Regions from separate parts of the Homo sapiens genome. Here region 2 is linked to region 1. Evidence: promoter capture Hi-C in 16 types of primary human blood cells and fetal thymus (Javierre and others, 2016). All regions are on one chromosome and are shown on one strand. Each heading gives the region's core, a stretch centred on a gene start or on the middle of the fragment in contact. The rest is flanking DNA. Distances are from core to core; before and after follow the strand shown. Region 1 holds the start of JUN (Jun proto-oncogene, AP-1 transcription factor subunit). Region 2 overlaps LOC105378758 (a long non-coding RNA gene).

Region 1 (3,086 bases), core at 14-2,513:
TTACATGTGTCTAGCGCTTCCTAGAGGCTACCCAGGATATGCGCCCACCACCCGGCCGGGAGTGCAGAGATTTGAAGTCCAGGTTCTACCCCGGGCTCCGAGTACTACTGCGTGACTTTATGCGAGTGTCCGCCGCCTTCTGGGCTTGTTTTCCCGGAAGCAACTCGGCGCGGATGGAGTGTGTGTGTGCGCGCGCGCGCGCGTTATGTTGTGCGTGTTGTGTTAAGCGTGTGCGTGTTGTCCGGGGGCGGGAGGGGGAGTAGACTAACACCGGGGTTCCCCGAGTTTCGGATCGCCTACACGCTTGTTCCCATCTGGACCCTGTTACCCACCAATTGCGCCCACTATAAAAACTGCCCCTCCGAGGCAAAGCTGTGAACCCCCGCGCCCTTTCCCCCACGGTCCCGGAGGATGAAGTGGGGTGCAACGGAGACTCAGCTGAGCGTCCAGTTTCGGGCAATACAAATCTCTCGGCTTCTACGAGCAGCCAGACGACCCCGCGGACCGTCGCTCCTGAACTTGACCGAGATGCAAACTTCGGAGTGTTCTCAACGTGGGGGGCCGACTCTCGGGAGACCGCCCCTAAACTTAAGTCCCCTTAGGCTCGCCCCCACCTGGGACTTCACAGAGCCACCTTAAGGGCGGTATTCCCGCCCCCCCGGAAGTGCGGGGGGGTGGCAGCGTACTTGGATTCTCAGCCTCCAGCCCCGCGCGGTGGCGGCCGCCGGTGGATGACTTCGGGCCCCACAAGTGGGGAAACAACAACCACCCCTCGCCCGCACCCCTGGCCCAAAACAACTGGCCAGGTTCCCTGGCCTCCCGGGTCCCTGCATCCCCCGCATCCCCGTCCGCAGCCGTGAACTTGAGCCCCCCTCCATCAGAGGTTGCGAGCGTCCGCCCGCTCGCGGCAGCCACCGTCACTAGACAGTCAAACCCCAAGACGTCAGCCCACAATGCACCGGGCGGGCCGGGAAAAACGGCCCGGGGAGGGGACCGGGGAAGAGAGGGCCGAGAGGCGTGCGGCAGGGGGGAGGGTAGGAGAAAGAAGGGCCCGACTGTAGGAGGGCAGCGGAGCATTACCTCATCCCGTGAGCCTCCGCGGGCCCAGAGAAGAATCTTCTAGGGTGGAGTCTCCATGGTGACGGGCGGGCCCGCCCCCCTGAGAGCGACGCGAGCCAATGGGAAGGCCTTGGGGTGACATCATGGGCTATTTTTAGGGGTTGACTGGTAGCAGATAAGTGTTGAGCTCGGGCTGGATAAGGGCTCAGAGTTGCACTGAGTGTGGCTGAAGCAGCGAGGCGGGAGTGGAGGTGCGCGGAGTCAGGCAGACAGACAGACACAGCCAGCCAGCCAGGTCGGCAGTATAGTCCGAACTGCAAATCTTATTTTCTTTTCACCTTCTCTCTAACTGCCCAGAGCTAGCGCCTGTGGCTCCCGGGCTGGTGTTTCGGGAGTGTCCAGAGAGCCTGGTCTCCAGCCGCCCCCGGGAGGAGAGCCCTGCTGCCCAGGCGCTGTTGACAGCGGCGGAAAGCAGCGGTACCCACGCGCCCGCCGGGGGAAGTCGGCGAGCGGCTGCAGCAGCAAAGAACTTTCCCGGCTGGGAGGACCGGAGACAAGTGGCAGAGTCCCGGAGCCAACTTTTGCAAGCCTTTCCTGCGTCTTAGGCTTCTCCACGGCGGTAAAGACCAGAAGGCGGCGGAGAGCCACGCAAGAGAAGAAGGACGTGCGCTCAGCTTCGCTCGCACCGGTTGTTGAACTTGGGCGAGCGCGAGCCGCGGCTGCCGGGCGCCCCCTCCCCCTAGCAGCGGAGGAGGGGACAAGTCGTCGGAGTCCGGGCGGCCAAGACCCGCCGCCGGCCGGCCACTGCAGGGTCCGCACTGATCCGCTCCGCGGGGAGAGCCGCTGCTCTGGGAAGTGAGTTCGCCTGCGGACTCCGAGGAACCGCTGCGCACGAAGAGCGCTCAGTGAGTGACCGCGACTTTTCAAAGCCGGGTAGCGCGCGCGAGTCGACAAGTAAGAGTGCGGGAGGCATCTTAATTAACCCTGCGCTCCCTGGAGCGAGCTGGTGAGGAGGGCGCAGCGGGGACGACAGCCAGCGGGTGCGTGCGCTCTTAGAGAAACTTTCCCTGTCAAAGGCTCCGGGGGGCGCGGGTGTCCCCCGCTTGCCACAGCCCTGTTGCGGCCCCGAAACTTGTGCGCGCAGCCCAAACTAACCTCACGTGAAGTGACGGACTGTTCTATGACTGCAAAGATGGAAACGACCTTCTATGACGATGCCCTCAACGCCTCGTTCCTCCCGTCCGAGAGCGGACCTTATGGCTACAGTAACCCCAAGATCCTGAAACAGAGCATGACCCTGAACCTGGCCGACCCAGTGGGGAGCCTGAAGCCGCACCTCCGCGCCAAGAACTCGGACCTCCTCACCTCGCCCGACGTGGGGCTGCTCAAGCTGGCGTCGCCCGAGCTGGAGCGCCTGATAATCCAGTCCAGCAACGGGCACATCACCACCACGCCGACCCCCACCCAGTTCCTGTGCCCCAAGAACGTGACAGATGAGCAGGAGGGCTTCGCCGAGGGCTTCGTGCGCGCCCTGGCCGAACTGCACAGCCAGAACACGCTGCCCAGCGTCACGTCGGCGGCGCAGCCGGTCAACGGGGCAGGCATGGTGGCTCCCGCGGTAGCCTCGGTGGCAGGGGGCAGCGGCAGCGGCGGCTTCAGCGCCAGCCTGCACAGCGAGCCGCCGGTCTACGCAAACCTCAGCAACTTCAACCCAGGCGCGCTGAGCAGCGGCGGCGGGGCGCCCTCCTACGGCGCGGCCGGCCTGGCCTTTCCCGCGCAACCCCAGCAGCAGCAGCAGCCGCCGCACCACCTGCCCCAGCAGATGCCCGTGCAGCACCCGCGGCTGCAGGCCCTGAAGGAGGAGCCTCAGACAGTGCCCGAGATGCCCGGCGAGACACCGCCCCTGTCCCCCATCGACATGGAGTCCCAGGAGCGGATCAAGGCGGAGAGGAAGCGCATGAGGAACCGCATCGCTGCCTCCAAGTGCCGAAAAAGGAAGCTGGAGAGAATCGCCCGGCTGGAGGAAA
Region 2 (2,912 bases), core at 202-2,701, 1.0 Mb before region 1:
GTTTTATCAAGGGTTTCCGCTTTTGGAACTTCCTCATTCTCTCTTTGCCTGCTGCTATTCTTGTAAGGTGGGACTTGACTTGCTCCTCTTTGCCTTCCGCCATGATTATGAGGCTCCCCAGGCCACATGGAACTGTAAGTTCAATTAAAGCTCTTTCTTTTGTAAATTTCTCAGTCTCTGGTATGTCTTTATCAGCAGCATGAAAATGGACTAATACATAAGGCAACTGCCCATCAGGAGTTGTAGTCATAAAAAGAGCAGCTACAGTTAGACAGTTGGTATTGAGGCAGTGGGGAGGGAGTACCTCTTGTTGGCTGAACCAAATAGAAAGCCAGAGGGCAATGGGAGCCTGGGTGGCACGGTTTTTAGGGTCAACCTCCCAGGACAGGAAGTAGGACAGAAAAGCAAGGCAAATGGATCTAGGTGACCAAACAAAAAATAAAGAGCATATTTACTTCTTTGTTTATTTCAAAACAATTCATGAAGCAGCATTATTATCCACATTTTGCAAATGAAGATATCGAAGTAGTCAAGTTTAAATAACTTGCTGAAAGTCACCTAGCTCCTAAATGGCAGACCTAAGATTTAAATTCATGTCTTCTAGGTCCACTTACATTCTTTTATACCAGAATGTCTGTCTTACATTTTACGTATAGGACCTGCCTTATATTTAAGACAGCCCGAATCTTGTAAATGATCATGCCTTCCACTTTCAATTAGACTATCAGGAAACTTAGAGTCAAATTCTAAGTCCCCTTTCCTAAGTGTGCCGGATCTTATAGCTTGTATTTCTTAGTGGCCTTGTCTTAATTTTTGATTTTACTTTCCCATTGCCCTGATTTCTTTATCACTGTATATTACCTATATTTTCTTCCGTATCATTTTTGACGAAGTGAATGATAAACAAATGAATAAATAGTTCTGTAACCTTGAGCCTATGCTTAATCAGCCTTTTCTGTAATAGAGAACCATTACTGTCACTATATAGGGGTTGTGAACGCCCCAGTTCCACCCCTAAACACATATATCCATGATCTCTGCTTTAGAGTTTGTTTACAATCACAGCCTTTTTGTAACCCAGCAGCCACTACCAATCAATTAGTATTGGCAGAATAATTAAAACCAAGTTGATATGCTTGGTGTAATATGACCAGTAAATTAACTGATAATATTGTAGGATCTTTAATATGGTAATGCCCTATGGAGAGCAGCTACTGTGTTTAATAGAGGACGCTCAGAAAGCTTTTAACCCAAGCTCCTTGTATGTGATGAGCATCATTATAGTCTGAATGCTTCCCAAACTTCAAGTACTTAAGTAAATGGCAAATTGAGCAATATGTGAATGCACTCTGTCCTCTAATAATTATTTTTTCTCCCCCAGACTTAAATTTGTGGCATTATTCCAAGGATATCTCAATGGTTGTTTTTTTTTAAGTGCTATACTATTTGGTTCTTTCATCCTAGATAAAGACCTATTTGGCCTTATTAATATGATTAGCTCCAATAAAGCTGTAGGGTCACAATTCCATTATCTAATATCCTGAAGCAGCACTACAACACCATTCAGGAGAGAGTGGAATTAATTTAAGCAATTCAAGACTTGGATTCTATTCAAGACCATTTAGTGAAGGTTTCCAAAGAACAATTTAAAGAAGCTTTGCCCATAAGATTATAATGACATGAGTCACTATAATTATCAAAATGTTACTGATGTATAAGTTTCTTATAGTTTTATAAATATTTATAGAGTATGTGTTTTCACATATATTTTCTCATAACTCAAGATAAAGCTTTAACAAGTTTCCTTTTAACATACATATCTCCCTATGTGTGTATAAATATATAATCAAGAGTTTGATTCTCTGGGGGAAGTATCAAAACTGGCTGATGTGCATCACTAAGATATTCTTTAAGCAAACCGGTCACCTTCTATTCTGTTGTGTGAAATTCAGGTGCATTGGTCTGTGAGCCTTGCTTAAGCTGACAGCCTGGCGCTTTCTGTTTCTCCCCAAGTTGAGTATATGAGACTCTGACATTGACACAGATATGGCTATTTCAGCTTCAGAAACATTCTATTCTTTGACATATTTTAGAATTAAAATTAAGAAAATGTTCAAGATTCTGACCCCTTTCAATCTAGTATCTTCCTTGATTTTGTTCTTTTCCATGTTCTTTCCACTGTTCCAATTGTTTCAAAGATGAACAACAAACATTTGATGATGTTTTTACATTTTAAAGTTTGCTCCTTTATCACCTCATTATATTTCCATTATCATTCTGTGTAGTGCTATCAAGACTCACATTTTCCCAATGAAAATATTAATGTTCTGACATTCAGAACCAGACATGCTCCAGGAGGACTGGCAGACCCAATGGTGCCATGCTCATTGGTGTTCACCATTTATTATAGATTCAAAAATATCTGTGGACAACCCATTCCTGATATTGTGAGAAATACAAAGATATACAGAACACTTCAGTAAATGTCCTCTATGCTCCAGGAGTAATTTGAAGGCACCATACTTCTTACTTCCAAGGCCCTCCCAGGTGCTATTTTCTCTGCTTAGAAGACTTGTGGGGCACAGTGGCTCATGCCTGTAACCTCACTGCTTTGGGAGGCTGAGGCAGGATTATTGCTTGAGCCCAGGAGTTCAAGACCAGCCTGGGCAACATAGTGAGACCCTGTCTGTACAAAAAAATTTAAAGATTAGCCAGGTGTGGTGGCCTGTGCCTGTGGTCCCAGCTACTTGGGAGGCGGAAGCAGGAGGATTGCATGAACCTGAGAGATCAAGGCTGCAGTGAGCTGTAACTGCACTATTGCACTCCAGCCTGGGTGACAGAGTGCGACACTGTCTCTAAAAATAAAAATAAAAAAAGACTCACTCTAACTTTTCTGAACTCTTCTTCACTTC

What was found. The method cuts DNA at HindIII sites, captures the fragments that hold promoters and counts their contacts. A CHiCAGO score of 5 or more calls a contact.
Region 2: a contact is called between a fragment that was not itself captured here and the fragment with the promoter of JUN in region 1, in 1 of 17 cell types (erythroblasts). The highest score is 5.1, in erythroblasts.

What each region holds. Positions count from the first base shown.
Region 1 is chr1:58,782,224-58,785,309 of GRCh38, reverse strand. JUN (Jun proto-oncogene, AP-1 transcription factor subunit) reads left to right here and starts at 1,263. Exons shown (of 1, transcript NM_002228.4): 1 at 1,263-3,086. The coding sequence starts at 2,240. It overlaps JUN-DT (JUN divergent transcript), which reads right to left and starts at 159. Exons shown (of 2, transcript NR_108106.1): 1 at 5-159. RefSeq lists enhancers at 72-817, 1,044-1,303, 818-1,565, 2,974-3,086 and a silencer at 2,824-2,903. The HindIII fragment of the contact is 7,855 bases long and covers 1-3,086 here.
Region 2 is chr1:59,782,719-59,785,630 of GRCh38, reverse strand. The region is part of intron 4 of LOC105378758 (a long non-coding RNA gene); the gene reads left to right. The region is part of intron 2 of LOC101926944 (a long non-coding RNA gene); the gene reads right to left. Among named protein-coding and RNA genes, the nearest start is that of HOOK1, 31 kb to the left of the region's middle. The HindIII fragment of the contact is 413 bases long and covers 1,245-1,657 here.